Linked DNA regions of Homo sapiens: region 1 is linked to region 2. Evidence: promoter capture Hi-C in 16 types of primary human blood cells and fetal thymus (Javierre and others, 2016). All regions are on one chromosome and are shown on one strand. The core of a region is centred on a gene start or on the middle of the fragment in contact, and the rest is flanking DNA. Distances in the headings are between cores, read along the strand shown. Region 1 overlaps EIF3J (eukaryotic translation initiation factor 3 subunit J). Region 2 holds the start of TRIM69 (tripartite motif containing 69).

The links. The method cuts DNA at HindIII sites, captures the fragments that hold promoters and counts their contacts. A CHiCAGO score of 5 or more calls a contact.
Region 1: a contact is called between a fragment that was not itself captured here and the fragment with the promoter of TRIM69 in region 2, in 5 of 17 cell types (naive CD4 T cells, activated CD4 T cells, naive CD8 T cells and 2 more). The highest score is 7.5, in naive CD4 T cells.

The regions. Positions count from the first base shown.
Region 1 is chr15:44,539,312-44,546,522 of GRCh38, reverse strand. All of the region lies in intron 2 of EIF3J (eukaryotic translation initiation factor 3 subunit J), which reads right to left. Among named protein-coding and RNA genes, the nearest start is that of EIF3J, 5.8 kb to the right of the region's middle. The HindIII fragment of the contact is 4,378 bases long and covers 20-4,397 here.
Region 2 is chr15:44,731,581-44,738,823 of GRCh38, reverse strand. It overlaps TRIM69 (tripartite motif containing 69), which reads right to left and starts at 2,296. Exons shown (of 7, transcript NM_182985.5): 1 at 2,114-2,296. The coding sequence starts at 2,119. It also overlaps the pseudogene RNF4BP. The HindIII fragment of the contact is 591 bases long and covers 2,126-2,716 here.

The sequences.
Region 1 (7,211 bases), core at 959-3,458, 190 kb after region 2:
CACAATATGACACCAAGCTTCTGGTTTCATAACACGACAGATCACAAATTTGTATCAGTCTAGGAATATAAACTAACCAAGCCTTGGTTCTTAATAAAAATCTCTAAGTCCAGTAAAGAAATTAAAAATTCAACATCCTGATTAAGGCTGTCATACAGTCTGCAAGCATAATTAAAGGAACTTTGTATTAAAAAGTAAGTGTATTTTTATATTCATCTTACTTCAGCAATTTAACCCACAGCTCGCAGTTTTAACAGATTGAAAGCAAACCAGCTAGTCATTATTTGAGTAACTGTGATACTAGAGTTAGAAATTAGAGATCAAACGTTTGTATTTCGCCGTTAGTTTGCTAAGTGCTATACATCACAGTACAAAAGGAACCAAAGAGCTAAAAATAAAAGTGAATTACTAGGCATTTTTTGTTGTTTAAATCTTCACAGAACACAGGAAGGCTGGATCTGTGAGTGATAGGGGGCAGTGTTTCAGATAGGAGGACCATTTGCTTACTTCCAGAAGATGCATATTTAAAACCCTTCTGAGAAACAGGTGTAGTAACAAGGTTAATTCTCACAACAGTCCTGTAAGAAGGTAGTGTTATTCCCCCATTTTAAAGAAAAGGAAACCCAGGCCCAGACATAGCCAACCCACAATCTCAGTGAAAAACTAAGGGACCTGCTCTGAATGGACCAAAGTTCTTTAAAGTGTCATAGGTATAAAGTTACAGTTAGAAGAATAAGTTCTGGTGTTCTATTACACAGTACGGTGATTATAGCTAATAACAATGTTATATATTTCAAGATAGTTCCATAAGAAAATTTTGAATGTTAACACCACAAAGAAATGATAAATGTTTAAAGTGATGAAATGGTAATTACAATGTATACATGCATTGAAACATCACAATATACCCCATAAATATGTACATTATTTGCCAATTATAAAAACTAATTTTAAAAAAGTTTTAAATAACTAAACATTTGACTGACCTTTTTATTGAAAATAAAATGATTTACTTTTTTAAAAAGCATGTTTTAAACACTTGCTTACAAAGTTCACGGTTTAGTAGAGTTCAATTCACTGTAATAAAGCAGCTTACAACACATCTTTAGAGTAACATGCTGAGATACATCCTTTAAATGTATACATGTAAACAGCTTCATTTAAGGCTTTAAACACAATGTTAAGGAAGGTCTTTAAAAAGCATGTTTTAAACACTTGCTTACAAAATTCACAGTCTGGTAAACAATTTAATTCGCTGGAATAAAGCAATTCCAATGCAATTCCAATGCAAAATAATAAAAATAAAAATAGTATTATAGTAAATATGACTTCTTCCCTGAGTCCTGAAGTATAAAATAACTAACTGGGAACTAAGTCCCTCTCCTGGGAACTCTGGGAATCTCATAAAGAGAAGGATTATTACACATATTAAGATATGCCCAGCTAGAGGTATACTGGTTACCAAACTTCTCACCTTAAATTGCCTGTAGTGGTTCTCTACTGATCTTTTTTTTTTTTTTGAGATGGAGTCTCACTGTGTCGCCAGGCTGGAGTGCAGTGGCGCAATCTCAGCTCACTGCAACCTCCGCCTCCTAGGTTCAAGCAATTTTCCTGCCTCAGCCTCCTGAGTAGTTGGGACTACAGGTATGCACCACCATGCCTAGCTAATTTTTGTGTTTTTAGTAGAGACCGGGTTTCACCATGTTGGCCAGGATAATCTTGATCTCTTGACCTCGTGATCCACCCACCTCAGCCTCCCAAAGTGCTGGGATTACAGGCGTGCCTGGCCCCTCCCACCTTTTTTTTTTTTTTTTTTTTTAAATGGAGTTTTGCTCTTATTGCCCAGGCTGGAGTGCAATGGCACGATCTCAGCTCACCGCAACCTCTGCCTCCTGGGTTCAAGCGATTCTCCTGCCTCAGCCTCCCAAGTGGCTGGGATTACAGGCATGTGCTACCACGAACTGGCTAATTTTGTATTTTTAGTAGAGATGGGTTTCTCCATGTTGGTCAGGCTGGTCCTGAACTCCCGACCTCAGGTGATCCACCCACCTCAGCCTCCCAAAGTGTTGGGATTACAGGTGTGAGCCACCACGCCTGGCCAGTTTTCTACTAATTTAAGAAACTGGGCCAGATGAGTTGGCTCACGCCTGTAATCCCAACACTTTGGAAGGCCAAGGTGGGTGGAATACCTGAGTTCAGGAGTTCAAGACCAGCCTGGCCAACATGGCAAACCCCTGTTTCTACTAAAAATACAAAAAAAATTAGCAGGGCGTGGTGGTGTGCACCTGTGGTCCCAGCTACTCGGGAGGCTGATGCCCAAGAATCACTTTGAACCCGGGAGGCAGAGGTTGCAGTGAGCCGAGATCACGCCACTGCACTCCAGCCTGGGTGATAGAGAAGGCCTCCGTCTAAAAAAAAAAAAAAGAAAAGAAAAGAAAAGAAAAAAGAAAAAAACTGGTCTGCAAGCCTCTGGTAGTAAGAGGTCAAGAAGGAAGAAGTATGGCTGAAAATAAGGAGCTCCATCTCAATACCTCCAAGGTAAAGAAACAAACTCAACACAGGAGCATTTTTATTTAATGTTGATGCTCTTCAGTTACCCTTCCCAGAAAAACATAACCCCCACCCCACCCATATCACTGCTCCCTCAGTACATTCACACCAACTCTATGTCCACCTCTATCCCTGTCCCTAGTTTCTCCCATCAAAGCATAAACCTTACCCCAGACACACATCAATGCAGACATAATGAAGCTACCTAGACATTCCCTACTCCATCACAGAATGGATTTTAGTAGCAAAAGAAGTGATTCTGGCCAGGCGTGGTGACTCATGCCTGTAATCCCAGCACTTTGGGAGGCCAAGGCAGGCAGATCACGAGGTCAAGAGATCGAGACCATCCTGGCCAACATGGTGAAACCCCATCTCTACTAAAAATACAAAAATTAGCTGGGTGTGGTGGCGCACACCTGTAGTCCCAGCTACTTGGGAGGCTGAGGCAGGAGAATCGCTTGAACCCAGGAGGCGGAGGTTGCAGTAAGCCGAGACTGCGCCACTGCCCTCCAGCCTGGAGACAGCGAAACTCCATCTCAAAAAAAAAAAAAAAAAGTGGTTCCTATCAACATGTACCAAGAAGAGCCATGACATCTGCTCCTCAATTCATAAAAGGACCATCCAAACCTTGACTGTCACTCTCTCCCCAAAGTGCTTACAAGTCTGCCCTGAAGTTACTACCAAACTAGCACTAAGCCCCTAAAGAAAGGAGCATAGTAAGTGTCAGCAAAAAGAGACTGGTCACACTTCCAAACAGATGTAATTATAAAAGCAAAAGGCCAGGTAGCTTTCCCCAGGAAGTTAGAGTTTTTGTTTCCATAGTTATAAAATTAAGTGTCTGAAAAGTAGATTTAAGGTAGAATGTTCACCACGCTGCTTCAAAAAATATGCCCAATTTTTTGTAAACATTAGAAGTTTGTAAATTCCAGCAGCAAATTCAGATAAAATGTAAAAAGGCTTCCTAGAGAAACAGCTAAAATTAACACTTAAAATAGGGAGCAAGTCTACAACTCACTTCAAAGAGCCCTAAATGGTTATTTGGTTCAAGAGACTACCTATGAACATCCAATTAAATCCTTTACCCAATTATTTTTGGTAGCCAATTAATCTTTCAACTATAATATCCAATTTATCTTCAAAAGAATCACCCAGGCTGCTCTCCTAAAATGGCTAGCTTCTTAGAATAGGGCCTGTTTATAAACTACTTGCTTATCTATACTCTTGCCCTGCAGATACACACCCATCATTTAAGCTATTTCTATGAAAGAGATGGCTGCTTTTTAACTTTAAAACTTGCTTCCCTAATTGAACACAACTAAGTATCAGAAGCAAAGCAGAAAACTTTATATCTTGCTTTCTTTTTATTTCTAACAATGTGGCCAGTAGTTAGCTGGTTCTGTCTTCATAATATAAAACTACATTATGTCACATGCAATGAGAACACATTTAGGGCTGAAAATGCTTTCCAACTTAAGCAAGATGTATTTATAGATTGTCAAATAGAAGTAGCTTCAAACGAGCAATAAAACTCTTTTGCCCTATAGCAACAGCCTAGGAACTAACATATACTCCTTCTCCTTTTTTCTTTAAATAATTTGGTTTAGGTAAAACATAATCTCTTGCTGGGAAAGAAAAAAAAAGCCTTTAATTTGTGTTCTGTAAGCTGTGCAGTTCTGAGAGAACTCAGAACTGTGCAACGAGATCTTGGCAAGGGTAGACTTCCCAGCAAAGTTCAGTTTTTTAAAAGCCAAAATGTTCTTCCACCATCTCAGAACTATGCTGGGTGCCTAGAAGCCAAGGTGCCTGCCTTAGTAAATTCTACTTCATTTAATTCAATTCATTAAGCTTTTAACATACTACAATGGATCAGCACTCAGCTGAGTTCCATCTCAATGCCTACCTGTCTCATATTCAGGACAGTTATCAATCTACTTTAAATTTCTGGCTCAGCGATATCAAGACACTGAACACTAAACAAGTGGTTTATTTACAATGATCCATCATGACAAGAAAATATTTTTCAATAACAAACATGCTTCCTAATTCAAAACTTGCTAGTTTATAAAAGTGGCAGGGTATGAAATGATATGATTGAGATTTTCTTGAAAATAATCTGGTTGGAGGAGGAAAGTGGGGATACAGAGGAGACAAGACTGGTCACTGGTTTATTAAATGTTTCTCTCTACTGCATGTTTGGAATTTTTCTTAAGTTACACATACACACACTCTCTTCAAAATACCCATTTTCTGGCAAAATGCCCACCTTCTGGGTATTTCCTAGTAATTTCACATTCTGTAAAATACAGATCCTGTTCTTTAGAAGTTGTTTCCAACCCCTGAAAATTGTCCCTATCTGGTAGATTCAAACTATTTATTGGAATAGGATCCTAACAGAGAGTGAATGAGTAGGACGAGAGAGGCTCAACTAAATCTGTTCTTCAGGATCGCTCTCTCTTTAAATGTGTTGGGGTCTTGCTATGTTGCCCAGGCTGGCTTCAAACTCCTAGGCTCACGCAATCCTCTTGCCTCAGCCTCTTCAGGATCTTTTAAAAGAAATGCTATATGGTTACAGAGGCAAATGCGTGAGATGGCTGAACACAGCTATAAGTTTCTGCAAACTCTGTACCCTTTGAATAAATCTAGCTTCTAAACTGTTCTACTGAAATGCTAGGAGACTAGTAAAATGGAGCAAAAGTTATGTTGTCCTTGTGTCCAGTAGGTACTCACTGCCTTCTCAGTCAACACATCCTACATATCATACCAGCAATGAGGAAGGAGTCATATATGCCAAGTGAACAATTCTTCCCACTACCTCTGCACAACTATCAGGATAGTAAAAAAGGTAAATAAAGCCAGGGTGATGGGAAACTATGCTCCCGAGTTCTCATCTTTTTAACTGGGGAAAAGCATAGTCTTTTCTTGCCATATATATTAACGGTTGTACAGTTTCACCTAAGTCCACTTCTGCCACTGCCAGACAGCTATTTGAAAAGTCAAGGACAGCAAAATACTAAGTCTACTAAATGAGAGTAAAGTGCTGGAGCAAATTATAATAACAAAAACATCAGTTTTCCTTTCATTTCCCAGGACATTACAAATGACATTAAACCTGTATTTTTAAAGGTTAAGTACTAGATGCTGACATGAACAGAAGACCTCACGGAAACTAAGCCTTGTCTGCAACTCCTCATAAAAAGTACAAAAACATAAGAATTCAGAAATTTGGTGATATGGCTGAGTCTGCTGGCTCACGCCCATAATCCCAGCATTTTAGGAGGCTGAGGAGGATAGATCACTTGACTCCAAGAGTTCGAGACCAGCCTGGGCAACTTGGCGAAACTCTATCTCTACCAAAAACACAAAAATTAGCCAGTCTCACAAATCTGTCTCAAAATAAATAGGCCAGGTGCAGTGGCTCACACCTGTAATCTCAGCACTCTGGGAGGCCAAGGCGGGAAGATCGCTTTAACCTCAGGAGTTTGAGACCAGCCTGGGCAACTTGGCGAAACTCCACCTCTACCAAAAACACAAAAATTAGCCAGTCTCACAAATCCGTCTCAAAATAAATAGGTCAGGTGCAGTGGCTCACATCTGTAATCCCAGCACTCTGGGAGGCCGAGGCGGGAAGATCACTTTGACCTCAGGAGTTTGAGACCAGCCTAGGTAACATGGCGAAACCCTGTATCTACAAAAAAAAAAAAAAAATATATATATATATATATATATATATATATATAGCCAGGCGCGGTGGCTCACGTCTGTAATCCCAGCACTTTGGGAGGCCGAGGCGGGTGGATCACGAAGTCAGGAGTTCAAGACCGGCCTGGCCAAGATGGTGAAACCCCGTCTCTACTAAAAATACAAAAATTAGCTGGGTGTGGTGGTGGGCGCTTGTAATCCCAGCTACTCGGGAGGCTGAGGCAGAGAACTGCTTGAACCTGGGAGGCGGAGGTTGCAGTGAGCCAAGATCGTGCCACGGCACTCCAGCCTGGGTGACAGAGCAAGACTCTATCTCAAAAAAAAAAAAAAGAAAAAAATATGTAAATTAGCTGGGCACGGCGGTGCACACCTGTAATCCCAGCTACTAGAAAGGCTGAGGCTGGAGAATCACTTGAATCCGGGAGGCGGAGGTTGCAGAGATCGTGCCACTGCACTCCAGCCTGGGAAACGGGGTGAGACCTTCTCTCAAAAAATTAGATGAATAGATAGATTGCTTTAAGTTAAAAAAAAAAAAAAAAAAGAAAAAGAAATTTAGCACTAAAACAGCAACTGGGGCCGGGTGTGGTGGCTCACGCCTGTAATCCCAGCACTTTGGGAGGCCAAGGCGGGCAGATCACAAGGTCAGGAGATTGAGACCATCCTGGCTAACACGGTGAAACCCCGTCTCTACTAAAAATAGAAAAAATTAGCCGGGCGTGGTGGTGGGCACCTGTAGTCCTCGGGAGGCTGAGGCAGGAGAATGGAGTGAACCTGGGAGGCGGAGCTTGCAGTGAGCGGAGATTGTGCCACTGCACTCCAGCCTGGGTGACAGAGCGAGACTCCATTTCCAAAAAAAAAAGAGCAACTGGACAAGATAATCTTTGTGGTCCCTTACAACTTGTAAATATCCAAAACTTGTTCCAAGTGATCAGAATTATATTCATCAGAGGCTGGGTACGGTA
Region 2 (7,243 bases), core at 1,047-3,546:
AGAACAACCCTATGAAATACGTATTATTACTACATATTTTAAGGAAACTGAAGCTCAGATTGCTTCAAGTATCTTCCCAGAGTCACAATTATTAAGTAGTGGGTCTCAGATTTGAACTCTTTATTTGACCCCAAAGCCTATTAACCACTGAGTCAGCAGAGAGCCCATCAATATGTTTTGTGGAATTGAATTTATTAAATGGATCAAATTTGTGAAGCAAAATATCTGCAATAACTTCCTACTGCTCTAGAGGGAGCTATAGAATTGGAAACCAAATGAGAGTCTAAAATTTCTGGACCTGGAAATCTTTTAGGAAACACATCTACTGCCAGCCCCTTTTAGGGGAAGAAGTCTAACCTTAAGGCAGAGAGAGAGAAACTCGAGTCAGGAATTGATATTCATCCTTATAAAGCCCTGGCTGGCAGGAATCACTTTATAAGAAAGCACATCAGCAGGTCACGATGGCCCAGGCCTGTAATCTTAGCCTCACTTTGGGAGGCTGAGGCAGGAGGATCACCTGAGGTCAGGAGTTGGAGACAAGCCTGGGTAACATGGTGAGACCTCATCTCTACTAAAAAAAAAAATAATAATACAAAAATTAGCCAGGCGTGGTGGTGCGTCCCTGCAGTCCCAGCTATTTGGGATGCTGAGGCATGAGAATCACTTGAACCCTGGAAGCGGAGGTTGCAGTGAGCTGAGATGGTGCCACTGCACTCCAGCCTGAGCAAGAGAGTGAGACTCTGTCCTAAAAAAAAAAAAAAAAAAAAAAGAAAGAAAGAAAGTATGTATCTTCCTCCTTCAGTTCACTGTGCACATTCTCAAAGAGCAGAGAAAAGGCAAAGAGCTATGAAGTCCATGGAAGCTTGCATAAGAAATCCTTAATTTTTACCAGAGATTTTTTTTTCCTGAGAAGTTTTGTGTTGTAAATTTTTGAAATCATAGTTAAGATATCTAAGGAGAGTTCATTTGTTGCTTTTCAACCTTTATTCCTTCAAAGTAATTTTTAAACTTTGATGGGCAGTTTTTATGAAGAATTAACTTTGAGAGCAGAAAAATACAGTTCATCCACAGAGACAAACTATATAGCACAGCCAGCTTAAACCTAAGAGCAAGACACACTCCTGCTTCACGAGTCAAGCCATTTGCACATAAGAAGGCAAGATTCTGAACTTTCTGACTTCTTGGAGCTTCCCAGAGTTGAAAGAAATTTTAAGCCATTTAATTCACTCCTTTCCAACCTCTGCCTGAACATCTGAAGTAATGGGAAACTCACTATCACACAAACAATTTTTTTACTATTATGGAAAAGTGTCTATTTTCACTGACTTGGCCTTAAAGTAATAAGAATATAGTAGGTTTAGGCAATAGTGTTTATTTTTGCCCTAGAAATTATAAACAAAATGCTTATAGCCCTGTTTGCTTCAATAGCTAAGCACAGAGATGAGTAGCAGCAAACCTAAAGGTCCTATGATAGAGGAAATTAGAAACTGATCTTAATGATTAATATAATGAAATTAAACTTTATAAGAAGTGGAAACTAGTGGAAATGGATGATAACTCAGGATTCAAGGGCCCCTGAAAAACCCTTAGTGAGTTTTTCAAGCTTTCATGTAGTAAATAACCATTTTCTTTTGTTTGACAATCAGGAAAACACTAAGTTCAGAAGAACATAACTTCCTTTATTTTAGCTCTGAAGAGGTCTTAAAGGAAGAATTCAATTAAAAATGTTTACTATCTAAGTATCAACTCTGCCTTAAATATAAAATAATCAAATGTGAAGGTATTGTAAGCAAACCAAGTTATACATAATAATTTTTAAATCTAAAATAAAATGATTACATTGATAATGAAAGTAAATTGTATATAGTATATAGTTTATTTTTTCTCAAAATGTTTTGGTGGATTTCATTACTTTCCTACCAGCTTCTCTAGTATAAATTATCAGTTATTCCAAGGCTTGGAGAGAGTATAGTAGCTACCAGCTGTCACAAGTTAAATACTTCCCTTCATGAATTTCCTTTTGTGCTCCTAAATCCATATCCTCTTCTATGATCCTGTTTTCCACACTATTCCTAGAAGCCCTGCTAAGTTAAAAAAAAAAAGGGTCACTCACCTCCATGAAGCTTCAGCCCACCAAGGGGCAGAGGCAGGCACTTGAATCAGAGCTCAGCAGGCCCAGGATGGCTGCAGACTGGGAGTCAGGGACCTTTTAGTTTTCAAGGAATGGGCTCAGAGCATGATGGAAGAAAGAAAAGTTCAGGAGCTGGAGAGAAGCAGCAAGGCCAGAGTGAGGTCTGGCAGATTCCGTGACAGTTTGTCAGTTAACTTTGATCATCATTTGCTTAAGAGAAAGAGAAACCCTCATTAGAATACCCTACCTGCCCAACTTTTCTTTTGTAGGAGACAAGGGCAGCTCATTTAGATTCGAGTTAGTGGTCTAATCTTAAGGTTCATAGCTCCCCATTTCTGGACTAAGGATGCTCTATGAAAGAGGAAATACACGTCAGCAGCAGCCTATATTAAGCCTAACTCATGAAAAATAACCACCTCACCCCTGTTCATGATCCCATCACACCATCAAGACACCAGCTGAGTGGCTTTAATAGAGAGCTAGTTCACCTCTCATATTCCAATGAAGCAGCCCTGATTTTATCTCTGAGACAGTAACACAGGCCTGGGAAACACCAGGCCCTAAGAAAGCAGGATGAAAAAAGCTTCATTTCATACAGCTTTCTTCAGCAGTTTTAGCTCGCAGAGAGATGTACCAACACTGTGCTCCTGAGTGACTTATAAAGAGCCACCACAGAGCCAAACAGTTTTTCTTACAGTAGTTCCTCTAACTCAATATGATTTCTTGCACGTCTAGCTCCTGCCTAGCTGTCCAGACTTAATGACCACAGCTCTTTCCCCAGTGTTTGGGATCGCCCAAATATGTCACGCTTCTGCAGCTTTGTATATGTTGTCCCTTCGGATGGGAGTTTCCCTTCCCCCACACCCCCGTCATTATCTCTTTACTAAACTCTTCCCTAACCACCCCCTCATCCCCAAACCAAGCTTTACCCACTTCCCTGTCTCTTGTAGAAGATATTTTGCTGGCTCTATACCAGAGGTTACCAACCTCAGCCCTATTGATATTTTGGGCCTGCTAAGTCTTACGTTAGAGGGGCTGTCCTGTGAATTTTAGGATATTTAGCAGTGTCCCTGGCGTTTACACACTAGATGCCTGTAGCCACCCCCCCCCCACCAAACCCAGTCATAACAAAAATGTCTCCAGTCATTGCCAAATGTCTCCTGGGGGCAGGGGTTGGAATCACTCCCCAGTTGAGAAACACAGCTTTACTCCCTTCCTTCCTTCCTTCCTTCCTTCCTTCCTTCCTTCCTTCTTTCCTTCCTTCCTTCCTTCCTTCCTTCTTTCCTCTTTCTTTTTTTCTTTCTCTTTCTTTCTTTCTCTCTCTTTCTGTTTTCTTTCTCCCTTTCTTTCTCTCTCTGTTTCTTTCTCTTTCTTCCTTTCTTTTTCCTCTTTCTTTCTCTCTTGCTCTCTTTCTTTCTTTCTCCCTTTCTTTCTCTTTCTCTTTCTTTCCTTCTTTTCTTTTCTTTTTTCTTTTCTTTCTGACAGGGTCTCACTATGTTGCCTAGGCTGATCTCAAATTTCTGAGCTCAAGCTGTCCTCCCACCTCAGCCTCACAAAGTGCTAGGATTACAGGTGTGAGCAACACCACGCCTGGCCTAGTTTTACACATTTCTATAGCACCCTAGATCTTTGTACACGTGGCTTTAACAGAGTGTATTCTAATTGTTTGATTGCATGTCTGCCCCTCCACTAAGTTGTGAACAAACCACAGGATAGGTAGTACTGTATCTTGCTCACCTTGGCAATACATGGCATTTGTTAGATCAAAACCTTTGTCAGATAAATGTCTATGAAATGCTGGTGATCACTTAGTCAAAAAAGTAATTTTGTTTCATCTTGATTGTTTTTGTTGTTGGCTAAAACATTTGACAATGCTTAGTATAGCTGATTTTACTAAAGCCAGCGCCTGCACATTTTTGAACCTTTAGCCTAGGGGTAAGAGTACTGGCCTAGAAGATGGAAGCCTTGTCTCTCACCACCAGAGCACTGAATAGCCTTAGCTAAGACATTTAACTCCTATGGGTGTCAGTTCCTCCTTCTTTAAAATGTGAATTCCTAAGACCCCCTTCTGTCTCTAGAAGCCTGTGATTCCAAATCCTATGTAGCAAGAAGTCTCAATCTTCACAAAGAGTACTTCAAGTCTTTTTTTCACTATTTAAAAACAGTGTCCAGGCATGGTGGCTCATGCCTGTAATCTCAGCACTTTGGGGGGCCAAGGTGGGAGGATCACCTGAGCCCAGGAGTTCAAGACCAGCCTGGGCAAGATGGCGAGACCCTGTCCCTACAAAAAATTTAAAAATTAGCCAGGCATGTTGGCACGTGCCTGTGGTGCCAGCTACTCAGGAGGCTGAGGTGGGAGGATCATTTGCGCCCAGGAGGTCGAGGCTGCAGTAAGCCATGATCATATCCCTGCACTCCAGCATGGTTGACAGAGTAAGACCTTGTCTCAAAAAATAAAAATAAAAAATAAAAAAATTCCATTGCTGTAAACGAGACCCAGAGTGATGGTTAATTTTGTATGTCAACCTGACTAATATACCCAGTATAAAAGTTGCTTAAGCAAGAATGAAATTTATTTCTCTCTTAAGTAAAAGTCCAAACTTCTATAGTGGCTCTGGTTTGCAAAGTTGTCAGTCTCCCAAATTCCTTCTCTCTACTTTGTTAACACAGAACTCACAACATCCATAAATTTGGAGAGGAGACTTTATTTCTTATAAAGCGTTAAAGGCCTGCAAGGTGGCCATCCCACAGGCCAGGAAGTACAATCTCTGGCAAAGACCAGAGACAGGCACTTCAAAGGAGGAGCAGGGGTAGGAACTTGATGCTGAATAGGTTGGCTAAACATACATATTCAACAGGTTACAGGAGGAGCTATGAATAATTATGAAGGTCATCCTGACTCATGCTTATTGAACAAACATGCATGTAACATACAACCCATGTTCACTTTGAGGTGGAGACTTAACTCTTTTTGTTGTTGTTATTGTTTGTTTTTTGTTTTTCGCGACGGAGTCTTACTCTGTCACCCAGACTGGAGTGCAGTGGCGCCATCTCAGCTCACTGCAATCTCTGCCTCTGAGGTTCAAATGATTCTCCTTCCTCAGTCTCCCAAGTAGCTGGGATTACAGGCGTGCACCACCACACTCAGCTAATTTTGTATTTTTAGTAGAGACGGGGTTTTGCCATGTTGGCCAGGCTGGTCTCAAACTCCTGACCTCAAGTGATTCACCCACCTCAGCCTCCCAAAGTGCTGGGATTACAGGCGTGAGCCACCACGCCAGGCCTAAGGTGGAGACTTAACACTTAAATGCATAACAATTAGACCCTATAAGTCAAAATGCCTGTTCAGGACAGGAAGGAACAAGGGTGCTTAGCCTCTATAAACTGGCCAGAACCAGCCCATAGTCAGTGGTCTTCTTATCAAGAGAAAGTGGCTGGGTGCGGTGGCTCACGCCTGTAATCCCAGCCCTTTGGGGGGCCGAGGCAGGCAGGTCACAAGGTCAGGAGATGGAGACCATCATGGCTAACACGGTGAAACCCCATCTCTACTAAAAATACAAAAAAATTAGCGGGGCGTGGTGGTGGGTGCCTGTAGTCCCAGCTACTTGGGAGGCTGAGGCAGGAGAATGGCATGAACCCAGAAGACAGAGCTCACAGTGAGCCGAGATCGGGCCACTGCACTGCAGCCTGGGCGACAGAGCAAGACTCTGACTCAAAAAAAAAAAAAAAAAAAAATTGCTTATCTCAGCTGGTGCTTGTTTAGCTGCTAAACAAAAAGAAAAACTGACAGGGCAGAACTCCGTCTCAAAAAATAAATAAATAAATAAATAAATAGAAAATCTTGTGGCAGTTAGAACATAGTTTATTCTTTAAGTGTAGGAGTGCATGACATAACACTTGCCTGGCATGACCTTAGATCTTACGAATAATTTGTTATTGCCACAAAGGGTCTATTCTGTCAGCCTTATGATCTTTATTTTGACATTAATGCTGGTCAGTTGTTGTGTCTAAACCATAAAAGAGACGGAGATATAATGAAGCGTGTCTGACCTCCCATCCCGTCATGGCCAGGAACTCAGTTTTAAGGTTTTTCTGGGGTCACTTTGGTCAAGAGGGGTTCCATTCAGTCAATTAGGGGGCTTAGGATTTTAGTTTACAACTTACTTCACCATCTCTAGGGTGTTGTCTTTATTTATGTGGTCCAGAATGTCCACATGTGGCCAACTAAAAATTGATGACTATAAGAAAGGGAAAGTTGCTTTAAGGACGACCCCAGTATCTGGCACACTCTGGCAACTGAAGTCCAGAGCTGAAGCATAAAACCAAAGGAAACAAAAAGCAGTCTCAGAGCATATGAGAAATCAAAGAGTTTCTTATATACTGCAGATAGCAATTTTAAAAATCAGTATTTTTAAGCTCAGAGCATTGGATGCCAACAACCCATAGTTCCTGCACAAAGACATGGAAAAATCCAGCCACAGGATCTGTCTTGAGCAATAAGGCATACATCATATATAACTGCAGTGATACTGATGGAGGCTGATTTTTTTCAAACAAACTGGGCAGTGTTAGTATGTGTAAAGGAAGTGCAGAAGCACTGACTACAGATGTGGCCACATTCTATAGAGTAGATGTGTTGTATACTAAGTTCAATCTCTGAGCATCCATCCATGCAAACTTGACACTGAATATAACCAGGTAGTATATGACAAAAAAAATTTTTTTGCAGGGAATTATGGTGGGCACTGTTGGTTATACATACATCTCTGTCCCTTTTCACTCCCTCCTCATCATTGTTCACCACACAACTGCCAGTGTGGTCTTGGAGTGGCCTTGTGTTTGCTCTTGGCCTCCTCCTTTGTTCAATAATCACTACAGAGTCACGGTGAGTTAGGTCAATCACTACAGGTGCTAGAGATTCACAGGTGAGGTCAACTACTTCATCACTTTCCCCAAGTTCTATCAGTTCTGCATCCAAGGCTATGTTAGGTGTTGGGCCTCCTTCTCTGGCTATAGGGAATGCTCAGGCTTGTCTGGAATTCACCATGCTGTCTCAGCTTATTATAGTATTCCATTGTGCTTTTTGGATTCAGTCTTAGAGAAGTAAATGAT